Regions from separate parts of the Homo sapiens genome. Here regions 1 and 2 are each linked to region 3. Evidence: promoter capture Hi-C in 16 types of primary human blood cells and fetal thymus (Javierre and others, 2016). All regions are on one chromosome and are shown on one strand. The core of a region is centred on a gene start or on the middle of the fragment in contact, and the rest is flanking DNA. Distances in the headings are between cores, read along the strand shown.

Region 1 (3,745 bases), core at 448-2,947, 5.4 Mb after region 3:
ATTAGGAAAGAGTGTTTTCCTTGTCCTGCAGGCAAAACAGAACTGAGAGATATGAGTATCACTCATGATGAGGACAAAAGGGCTGCGTGCTGGGAAACATGAGGCGACCAACACAGAGTTGGTCACTATCCACTGGCCTGGGTTTGCAACTACAGTTGTCCAAATTGTCAGAAAACTATGGACTGAATAGAAAACAAAAAAGGAGCTCACCAGGACCATGATGGTGTGTGTGGCTCTGGCTTCCTGGGAAGGTCTGCAGGAGAGTCTGTTGCTGTGATTGTGTTGGACTTGCTGCTTGTGTCTGTAGAGGAAGAAGACCATGGAGCCACTGGCCCAGACCATGAAGCCCAAACTCATAAAATCAGGGGAAAAATATAAGACTGCATGTAATGAGCTAAATCTCTTTGATGCTTTGTAAGAACAGTATCCATAATTGTTTTTTGCACTACTGTTTTTGCTATTCAGTGGGCCATTCACTAATAGAAGAACAGATGCATTCATCAAGACATGGGGGGCCCAGCAGAGGAGACAACAGAAGTCAATAAACCTTGGGGATCTAATCTTGATCTCCATCCACCTGCATATACTGGGGTTGAGCTTAATGGCTTGGAATCCATTGAGAAGGCAGATGGTGCTGAGGGAAACTCTTGTGCCCACCCTGTGATAATAAAAGACAAACTTACATCCAGTGTCATTCAGCAAATATTTCAATCCAAAAGCTGCCATTGTCTGAGGTATCCCTTTAAAGAAAAGGACCATGGAGTTAGCCAAGGCCAGTTGGCTGAGAATCAAGTCCGTGGGTCTCAGCTTGTGTCCAGTGAACAAAATTAAGTTATAAAAACAAAGGAGAAAGGAATTTCCCAGGATCCCAACTCCAGTCTGAATGAGGAAGCTAATCCCTGATTTTACTTTTCCAAAAGCCATTTCATCAAAATCTAGGGGATGTTGATTTTCATTGAGGTCTGAAGAATCAGTAGAATAAAAAAGCAGAAAGAAGTATCTTGTCATCAGTGGAGACAGAAGTTTTAATGTGTCTCCAACCATATTTTCTCATCTTAAACAGAAATTAAGATTGTCCCTGTTCGTGCAAAGGCAATTGCTTGTGTGTCCAACTGCAGAGAAGCAGGTGAATGAATGAGGGCTCAACCGCACAACAGATCCACAAATCAAACCTATAAAACTCAGGGCTTACACACATGCAACAAGTAAATACAAGCAAAACTAGGGAAATATATAAAAACAGAACACAGAAGAGTCAATATCATTAGAGTGATATTATACTATAGTTTGCAAAATGTAATCATGACGGAACCCTGGGTAATATGGACAGGGCTTTTTCTGTATTATTTCTTATGACTGCTTGTGAGTCTACACTTATTTCAATAAAACCTTCAATTAAGTAGCCTGGAGATATGAAAAGCAAAAATAATACACCATAAAACCTTTTCCACACTAATATTTTAGTAAACACCATTGTTATTGATGCATTGAAACAAATTTTAGGCCGGGTGCAGTGGCTCACACCTGTAATTCCAGCACTTCGGGAGGCCAAGATGGAGACCATCCTGGCCAACATGGTGAAACCCTGTCTCTACTAATAATACAAAATACTAATAATACAAAAATTAGCCGGGCATGGCGGCGCGTGCTAGTCCCAGCTACTCGGGAGGCTGAGGCAGGAGAATCGCTTGAACCTGGGAGGCAGAGGTTGCAGTGAGCTGAAATCAAACCATTGCCCTCCAGCCTGGGCGACAGAGCGAGACTCTGTCTCAAAAAAAAAAAAAAAAGAAATTAAAAAAACGCTACAATACAATTGGTAACAAGGCCTTCAGCACAGTACAAATGCTAACTTGAAGAATTTTTAAAAACTATAATTTTTGGAACAATCAACATTGCATCATGGTATATTTTATTTTAAGCACATATATTTCTGTTATTTTCCACCGGACAGGTCTAGAGATTGTGAATTGACTCCGTAGAAATAACCATGACCACCTTGAGCCCACACATTTTTATCTCAATGCCATTTCTCACAAGTAAATGCAAAAGATCCTGAAAATAAATACTAATCCCAGAAACACCTAAGATATCCTTAAAACTTGTTAAATAGGAAATTCAATATGTTCCAGAAAGCTTGGGTTTATTTTTAGGGAAAGATAATTCAATTGGGAGGGAATTTCATTGCACAATATTCATATATATCAATCACAAAAGAAATAGTAACTGCGGCCAGGCACGGTGGCTCACGCTTGTAATCTCAGCACTTTGGGAGGCTGAGGCGGGTGGATTACAAGGTCAGGAGATGGAGACCATCCTGGCCAACATGGTGAAACCCCGTCTCTACTAAAAATACAAAAATTAGCTGGGTGTTGTGGTGCGTGCCTGTAGTCCCAGCTACTCGGGAGGCTGAAGCCTCCTGGGTTCACGCCATTCTCCTGCCTCAGCCTCCTGAGTAGCTGGGACTACAGGCGCCCACCACCACGCCCGGCTAGTGTGTGTGTGTGTGTGTGTGTGTGTGTGTGTGTGTTTAGTAGAGACGGGGTTGCACCGTGTTAGCCAGGATGGTCTCGATCTCCTGACCTCGTGATCCGCCCGCCTCGGCCTCCCAAAGTGCTGGGATTACAGGGATGAGCCACCTCGCCCGGCCATAATTTAGATTCTTTTGGTGTCTCTATGGAATTGCTATCATCAGGGAAAATTATGAGGTATTTTCTCCCATGAATAACTACATCTCTTTAGGGGTGGAGCAATCAATAACACAGCAGTATCAAGATTCTCAGGCGAGAGGTGGCTCACGCCTGTAATCCCAGCAGTTTGGGAGGCCGAGGCTGGTGGATCAGCTGAGGTCGGGAGTTCGAGACCAGCCTGACCAACAGGGAGAAACCCCGTCTCTACTAAAAATACAAAAATTAGTCAGAGGTGGTGGCGCATGCCTGTAATCCCAGCTACTCGGGAGGCTGAGGCAGGAGAATCGTTTGAACCCCAGAGGCGGAGGTTGCAGTGAGCCGAGATCATGCCATTGCACTCCAGCCTGAGCAACAAGAGTGAAACTCGGTCTCAAAAAAAAAAAAAAAAAACTCAGGCTCTGAGGTATGAAAACCTTTTAGATTCCCACAAACCACTTGTTGACAAATGTTTTTCCTATTTATATGAACTCATCATTTATTTTCAAGATAGTTCCTGATTCTTTGCTTTAATCTCTTATTTTGCTCCATTGTCCTAGTTGTATAATTTATTTCCAATATGCATTTGGTTTCCTATTTTTTCAGCTTCTCCTTATAAAGTACCATTTTTACTATGACTATTTTGAAAGCTTCTTGTATGTATAAAGTTAGTGTGATTATTGACTTTAACATACCACCTCCTTCTCCTCCTAGCCTCAGAAAGAAGTGTTGGTAACTGGTGAGAATTTTCAGACAGATTTTCCTTTTTTTTTTTAATTTAATTTAATTTTTTTTTCTTTCTTTGCTTTCTTTTTTTTTTTTTTTTGAGACAGAGTCTCACTCTGTTGCCCAGGCTAGAGTGCAGTGGCGCTATCTCGGCTCACTGCAAACTCCACCTCCCACGTTCAAGCGATTCACCTGCCTCAGCCTCCTGAGTATCTGGGATTACAGGCGCCTGCCACTGCGCCTGGCTAAATTTTTTTTGTATTTTTAGTAGAGATGGGGTTTCACCATGTTGGCCCGGCTGGTCTCGAATTCCTGACCTCGTGATCCACCCACCTTGGCCTCCCAAAGTGCTGGGA
Region 2 (3,836 bases), core at 470-2,969, 6.0 Mb after region 3:
AAAACATAAAAGTTAGTGTCTTTTATGCCAACAATTTTCCTCCTTTACCACCAATCAGTTCTAATTTTGTACCAAGATAGACAGACCCCCTTCCATCCTCAAAAGTCCTCAGCCCATCACCAGCTCTGACCCATGACTGCAGCAGCTAATGATAGGGGAGGCCCAGGAGAAACACAACTTGGACTCACCCCAGGAGGCCCACGGGTTGATGGCTGCCATCCCGAGGACTGATTGACCAGGCACCTGCCCAGGAACACAGCAAATCCCAACCTAGTGACAAAAGTGAAAAAAGACAAAACTAGTCCTTTCTCACAGAAGACCAAGTGGGAACAAAGAAGGGAATCCATCCACCGAAGCAACAAAAAAACTTGTAAGGAGCATCGTAAGAAAAGAGAATTTACATGTCAAAAAAGTAACACAATTCCTGGAGAGAAATGAAAGGTAATTTGCATAAGCTGGAAAAAAGAGCATGATCCTGAATGAGAGGGTACAAATTTGTCAGCTATTCCCAAGAGACAGCCAGTCACAACACAGATGGAACTTTTGGATTAATCTGACAATTATTGTAAAATCAACTTGCAATCCTCATATATTAGTGGTTGCCTAGAGCTGGGGGAAAAATGAAATGGGGAGTGACTGCTTAAGGGGAACAAGGGTTTCTTTGTGGGGTGATGAAATGTTCTAAAATTAGATAATGGGGATGATTGCACAACTTTATTAATATACAATAAAACCGGTGAATTGCACACTTTTAAGTGCTTAAAGTGAACATTATGTTATGCAAATTTAATCCCACCTCCAAAAAAAATTCACCTCCAAGATTTACTAAGCCTAAGCTTGTGTGTGTGTGGAGGACTTAGAGATGGGCCTGGCGCCCAGACCCCTAACTCCTCAGGTTCCAGATCTTTGTACAAGTCAGCAACCTCTCGAATGGATTCCTGGGTATGTGTATAAAGCACTAGAACACACAGTGGGCCTCAGGAGCACCGGAATCAGCGCGAAAACGCAGAATGCAAACCGTACTTTGCACCATTATTTGCAACTTGACAGTGACCGCCGCCGTCACTGCATGTTTAAGGGAACCCGGAGCTGTTTCCAACCCAGGTCTGACGTCCTTCACAGTGCTTTGTGTGAACTGGCAGGGGGAGAAACGACGGCTGGGGAACGAACGGGGTTATTCGTCCCATCAATGGCCTCAGAAGCATCCTTATCACCTGCTTCCAGAGCTCCCGACCCAAATTTCCTCCTCAAGACCGACGCGGCCGCGACGCTGCAAAAGCTCGTCCCGGCCTCACCTGGCTCGCGGCCGGCGGTCCCCCTTGAAGGCGGCGCAGCAGGATCGGGGTCTGCCCGCCTGGGGCGTTTGGCTTTTGTCCCGCGCCGAGGTCCGGCCCAGGAGTGCGCTTGGGAGCTCCCGGCGCGGCCTCGGGGACAAAGGCCCGCGGAGCCGACGTGCAGCAGAGTTCACCCAGGCCCGTCCGACCAGAAAACGAAGAACGCCCGGAGGCGGGAGGCCGGAGGCAGGCTGCTGGCTGGAGAACCGACGGCAACGACGGCGCAAAGCCGGCGCGGAAAGGGCAGGCGCAGGACCCACCCTGACGCCGCCTCTCCCAGCCGGCTCTCCTGACCCCCCAAGCCCCGCAGCTACGGCGGCCCCACAGCCTGAGCAAAGGCCTCACCTCAGCCGCGGACAATGGCGGCTGCTTCCCCGGCGTCGACCGGAGCGCGCCGCGGGGTCTGCTGGGAGCTGTAGTTCCAGGCGGGCACTTCCGGCGTCGGGCAGCGGCGCCGCCATGACAGGTTCCTGGGCCGCGCCGCCTCGCCCTGCCTGGGCGGGGTTGGGACCTTTCTGGCACCTGCGTCGAAGCCGGCGGCAGGATGGACTTTGTTGTCCCGGTCCCAGACCACCCTCCTCCACCGTCGCCTCCCACTGCAAAAAGGCCTGGGTAAGTCGCGGCCCCGCGGGCCTCGGTTTGCCCATCCGCAAAATGGCGCCTCGTGGTACCGGGTTTCCCGGGAGGAGCTCGGCGAGTTCTCAGCGCTCTCGAGGGATCCTTCCATTTGGCGTTCGCAAGATTGTGAGAAAGTGACTGCTGTTATTCTCTTTAAGATAAGGAACCTAATTCGAGCTACCCTTCTCTGTGAAGCTCGACGGCTGAGAACGTCAGGGCTCGTTCCCAAGTCTCTTTCCAGAGGCCAGGCTTTATGGGAGCATGGGTTACCAGCGACGCACCCTGTGAGTTTTCCTCTATCGATATGCATGGAGCGGTTCGGGAGCGGTGGCTCATTCCTGTAGTCCCAGCACTTCGGGAAGCTGTGGCGGGAGGATCAGTTGAGTTCAGGAGTTCGACACCACCCTGGGCAACATAGCGAGACCACATCTCTACAAAAAAAATACAAAAATTAGCCCGGTGTGATGGCGCGCGCCTGTAGTCCCCGCTACTTAGGAGGTTGCGGTGGAAGGATTGCTTGAGCCTGGGAGGTCAAGGTTGCAGTGAGCTATGATCGCACCACTGCACTTCAGCCTGGGCAACAGAGCAAGACCCGGCATTAAAACAAACAAAAACGGGCCGGGCGCGGTGGCTCACAGCTGTAATCCCAGCACTTTGGGAGGCCAAGGCAGGTGGATCGCCTGAGGTCAGGAGTTCCGAGACCAGTCTGGGCAACATGATAAAACCTCGTCTCTACTAAAAATACCAAAAATTAGCCGGGCTTGGTGGAGGGCACCTGTACCCAGCTACTTGGGAGGCTGAGGCAGGAGAATCGCTTGAACCCGGGAAGCGGAGGCTACAGTAAGCCGAGATCAAGCCATTGCACTCCAGCCTGGGCAGCAGGGCAAGACTCTGTCTCAAAAAAAGGGACTGAGGGACTGTAGGTGGTGATACCAAAGAAAGCATGGCCATTTAGGAAGCTAGACTTGAGTGAGCAGTGGGCAAGAGAGATTTTGAAGATATTTCCACTAGTAATGGAGGATCATTTTAAAAAGCTGGCCTGTGGGTTGGGCTTTTGTTGTTGGGTGGTGTTGGCACTCACTGTGGGTGGGCAAAGGGGAGTAGCCCTTTCAGAGGGAGAGGAAAAGTTCAAGTAGGACAGGCTGAATTCAAGGGAGAGGAAAATTTCAAGTAGGACAGGCTGAATTCGAGGGAGAGGACCATGAGAGAGGTAAGGTGGAAGGGGCAAGGTGTTGGGACAGGCCCCAGCTGGCAGGAAGGTGAACCCAGTCAGAGTGGGCACTGAGAGGAAAGCAATCTATGGATGGTACAGCCACAATTTCCATCTCAGGATCAAGCAGAGAAAGAGAGGCTGGAGAAGGAAGAGTGACAGAAGTAAGAAGAGAGTGTCTCTCCACTTCCACTCCAGCCCCCTACAGCTCATCCTCCAGCAGGCAGCCAAGGGCACTTTTAGGATCTCACATCAGGTCCTTGCCTCACATTCTGCACTGGCTTCCCAAGTAATTAAAGTAAAATCCAAATTCCAGCTCACAGCTTAGAAAACTCAGCAGGACTGGCCTCTGTCCTATCCCACACCCCACCTCAGTCCCTCAAGCTCATCTCCTGTCATTCCTGCCCATTTCTGGACCCCAGCCACTCCTCAAACAGGGTAAGTCCATTCCTGCTTCAGGGCCTTTGTACGTATTGTTTCCTCTTCCTGGAATCTTCTTCCTTGTACAGCCCCAGGGTTTTCTTTTTTTCATCCAGATCACAGCACAGATGTCACATCCTGGTAACAGCCAGCTGTGACTCATCTCCCTAATTCTCAATTGTATTACTCTCTTTTTATTTTCTTCGTATCGTAACTGATAGTCTCATACAGTACAGAAGCCAAGTTTTAAGATA
Region 3 (3,792 bases), core at 828-3,327:
TTCATAGGGAAAACACAGGTTTACATCAGAAAAATATTAGCATTCTACATTTAAAATAAAATTGCTGATGGTAGTTCAGTAATATAAGTTTACGGCTTTAAATGTTTTCATTAATAGAAAAAAGAGAGAAACCAGGCGGGAGGAAGGGAGAGAAAAAAATGAATATAAATACAAATTTTACAAAAGACAAAACCAAAAATAATCCTCAGAGATAATCGTGAGGAAAAGATGTTTAACTCCTCTTTTGGCCAACAAGTAAAGCGACACAAGTTATGCCAATCACACAATGAGCAAGAAGCAGAATCAGGGCTGAAAATCCACTTTTGTTTCACTTCAAAATCCACTTTTACTCTACTTTATACCGAACCAAAATTATCTGTAAATCAGATGCCTCCCTATTAAGTAAATAAATAAAGCAATTAAAGGGCTATTAGTAGAATTCTAGTTAATCATATACAGAATTATTTAGAGGAATGGTACTTATGTCTGTAACTTACTTTGAAATATACCAAAATCGACAACAAATAAGGAATGATTCACAAACAGAGGAATGGATGAATACTTAGAAAACCAGTAGAGCTGATCTAATACAATGTTAATGGTAAAAGCTAGGTGGTAGGCATATTGGTATTAACATTAAACTTCTTTCAATATTTCCATAGGTTCAAAAATTTTCACAAAATAATATGTTAGGCAGAGAGAAAAATATTGTAATACTAAGAATTAAGATGACCAAATATAAAATAAATATTTAAAATTAATTTATCTTTTGTTATAGATTATAAGGAAAGGGGAGTCAGAAAGCAATACACTGCAATAAAAGTAATAGTCTAGATTGAAGATTAAAGGCAGGAAAAACAAAATTCATGGATAAATGGATAATCATAAAATGTTCCTAAAAATAATACCTAAACATTTTAAAACATTTCACTTCTATCCAAATGTACGCATAAACTTAATGTGAATGCACTTATAGTACCACCGGCTCAAACAGTAAAAACAACTTCTAAATGTTTATTACATAATATAAAGCGAAAAAGATAATAGTACCATTTACATAATTTATCTGAATTATGAATATTAAGCACATAACATACACGTCTAAAATTGAAATATTCTGAAAATTTGACAAAGGTTATCTTTGAGTAACCGAGCTTACCATGGCAGAGATGTTATCTTACTTGTGTCAGAAAGAACCTGAAAAGAAATATCCAAGAGGATACGCTGGAAACTTGCAGGACAAAGGGTAGAAGCCGCATCTTAAATATAAAACATACTACTTTTAGGTATGCTAGATGACTGATCTCGCCAAAAACTTCCATTTCTGAGGATTCAAGACCAAGGGGTGATGGAAGGTGCCAAAGGGGATTTAAAAACCAGTCGTGGAGAAGGGTCTTGGGCAGAAGGGGAATGCTAATGAGCATCAATTCTGTTCCAGCAGCCAGGGCTGGGGCTAACCCATCACCTGCCATGGTTCCCAGGCCTCCAGAGCTGCAGCCCACATCGGAATCTGTGGCGCTACCACCACCGCCACCGGGATTAATTCCAAAACCTGGATCAGAAACCTCCGTACCTTAACCCCCAAGACAGTTCCTCAATCATTTAGTCCCAAACAAAACCTGAACCATAAACCGATTCGCTGACAAAACAAACCCTCCAGTTCGCAATCACTGAGCCCCGCCAAAGGACAACACCAAAGACACCAGAATGTGACTTGGGCACTCAGTAGCGGATCTCTAGAGATCTTTAACCACAAACTACACGAGGACCCTGTGACTGGTCCCAGAGGTACCCCGATCACACACACACACACCCTATCACGGACCTCTTGTAGTTCCCCTGCGATAGGAATCGGACCCACGCTAAGCTCCTGAAAGAATTCCACTGGCGTCGCCAAACGCTGGCGCCGACAGATACCAGTCCATCACCACTGTCCACGAACACGCCCAGCCACGGACAGAATTTCCTCCCCCGTCACCACAGCGACCACCCAGTGACTGAACTTACTTCCCAGAACTTGGTGGGCTCCGGCCTCATCTCTCGGCCTCCTCAGTGCCTGACGGCGACTATCCAGGGTCGGAGGCGTTCCCAGCGTTTGCGCAGATGCAAGATGGCCGCGCCCTCGTCGCCTTGGCTCCATGGGGGCCGCCATCTTTGAGTATCTGACGTACACAAGGCAAAGGGCGCGTTTTGGCGCTGGTGACCGGGGGTGACCGGGGGTGACCGGGGATGGCCGGGAAGATGAAAGAGCACTGAAACTGTCCCATTTCCTGGCACCTCAACCCTTCATAAATACGGGTCCATATACAGAGGCTCCAGTTTACACAAGACAAAAATGGCGTGGAGGTAAATCCCTTTCAGCAGCTGAATAGAAGGCTAAGATGGCCGCGACGTTTACACTTTGTACAAAGGTTAGGAAACAGTTCCTTGTGAGGGAAAAGGAGAACCGGCCGAGAGGGGACACTTCGGCCAAAGCCAGATTTCTAACAAAGTAGCTTGAAGCGCCTTTTGAACGCAGAAGAGGGCTGTTAGCTACGCTGACGGAACAGGGGTAGCAGTCACAGACTAGGTAATGAAAACGGTTGGAACGTGCCAAAATTATGTTGGGTGAAAGGCATGGGGAAAAGCCAGTAAAAGCCAGAAAGTATAGTTCCCAAGGCGGAGGGGAGAGCCTGGGACCCAGGTGGAGCCAAATATGAGGGCTGGACTCAGGAGAAGTGGCCAGAAATTAAGGGAACAGGACCACTTCAGTGAGAAAAAAAAGGTTGGGAAAGAGGCCGGGCGCGGTGGCTCACGCCTGTAATCCCAGCACTTTGGGAGGCCGAGGTGGGCGGATCACCTGAGAGCGGGAGTTCGAGACCAGCCTGACCAACATGGAGAAACCCTGTCTCTACTAAAAATACAAAATTAGCCAGGCATGGTGGCGCATGCCTGTAATCCCAGCTACTCGGGAGGCTGAGGCAGGAGAATCGCTTGAACCCGGGAGGCGGAGGTTGCTGTGGGCCAAGATGGCGTCATTGCACTCCAGCCTGGGCAACAGGAGCAAAACTCCATCTCAAAAAAAAAACAAAAGAAAGAAAGGTTAAGAAGGAGATCACGTTATACTACGTGTGCCAACCGCGAATAGTATGTGCAAAGTCATGGCAATGCTGAACTGTAAATATAAATCCAACCAAACTTCCTATATTAGAAGAATGAGAGAAAGGAAATGCCTGTGTGAATCTATGTGTGTGATATAGGTATCAGTATATAAATATACAGAGAAATTGTCAAACTATTTTTCAGAGTCAAGTTCGTGTTCCATTTGCTCTTCTCACCCTTGGTATATGAGAGTTTTTCTTTTTTTTTGTTTTTTTTTTGTCTCTTTTTGAGGCAAGGTCCACTCTGTTGCCCAGTCTGGAGTGCCTGGGGAGATCACAGCTCACTGTAACTTGGAACTCCTGGGCTCCTGAATAGCTGGGACTACAGGTGGGCACCACCACACCTGGCTAATTTTTTAATTTTCTGTAGAGACAAGGGTCTCACTATGATGCCCAGCTGGTCTTGAACTGGCCTCAAGCAGTCCTCCCACTTCATCCTCCAAAAGTGCTGGGATTACAGGTGTGAGCCACTTCACCCTTCACCCGGCCTATAAAGAGATCTGAAAAGAAATAAGAAAAAAGATGGGCGCGGTGGCTCATGCCTGTAATCCTAACACTTTGGGAGGCCAAAGCGGGAGGATTGCCTGAGTTCAGGAGTTTGAGATCAGCCTGGCCAACATGGCGAAACCCCATAGCTACTAAAATACAAAAA

Evidence for each region. Contacts are between HindIII fragments. The CHiCAGO score rates a contact against its expected background, and 5 or more counts as called.
Region 1: a contact is called between the fragment with the promoter of VN1R1 here and the fragment with the promoter of ZNF615 in region 3, in 1 of 17 cell types (non-activated CD4 T cells). The highest score is 5.6, in non-activated CD4 T cells.
Region 2: a contact is called between the fragment with the promoter of ZNF606 here and the fragment with the promoter of ZNF615 in region 3, in 1 of 17 cell types (non-activated CD4 T cells). The highest score is 8.7, in non-activated CD4 T cells.

What each region holds. Positions count from the first base shown.
Region 1 is chr19:57,455,443-57,459,187 of GRCh38, forward strand. It overlaps VN1R1 (vomeronasal 1 receptor 1), which reads right to left and starts at 1,698. Exons shown (of 1, transcript NM_020633.4): 1 at 1-1,698. The coding sequence starts at 1,044. The HindIII fragment of the contact is 5,648 bases long and covers 1-2,131 here.
Region 2 is chr19:58,001,101-58,004,936 of GRCh38, forward strand. It overlaps ZNF606 (zinc finger protein 606), which reads right to left and starts at 1,720. Exons shown (of 7, transcript NM_001348022.3): 1 at 1,296-1,720; 2 at 189-270. The coding sequence starts at 219. It overlaps ZNF606-AS1 (ZNF606 antisense RNA 1), which reads left to right and starts at 1,794. Exons shown (of 4, transcript NR_036508.1): 1 at 1,794-1,946; 2 at 2,111-2,236; 3 at 3,283-3,600. RefSeq lists an enhancer at 1,652-2,071. The HindIII fragment of the contact is 14,498 bases long and covers 835-3,836 here.
Region 3 is chr19:52,006,134-52,009,925 of GRCh38, forward strand. ZNF615 (zinc finger protein 615) reads right to left here and starts at 2,078. Exons shown (of 7, transcript NM_001199324.2): 1 at 2,008-2,078; 2 at 1,160-1,197. It overlaps LOC124904755 (a long non-coding RNA gene), which reads left to right and starts at 2,165. Exons shown (of 2, transcript XR_007067321.1): 1 at 2,165-2,346. RefSeq lists enhancers at 1,839-2,448, 2,509-2,588. The HindIII fragment of the contact is 6,775 bases long and covers 1-3,792 here.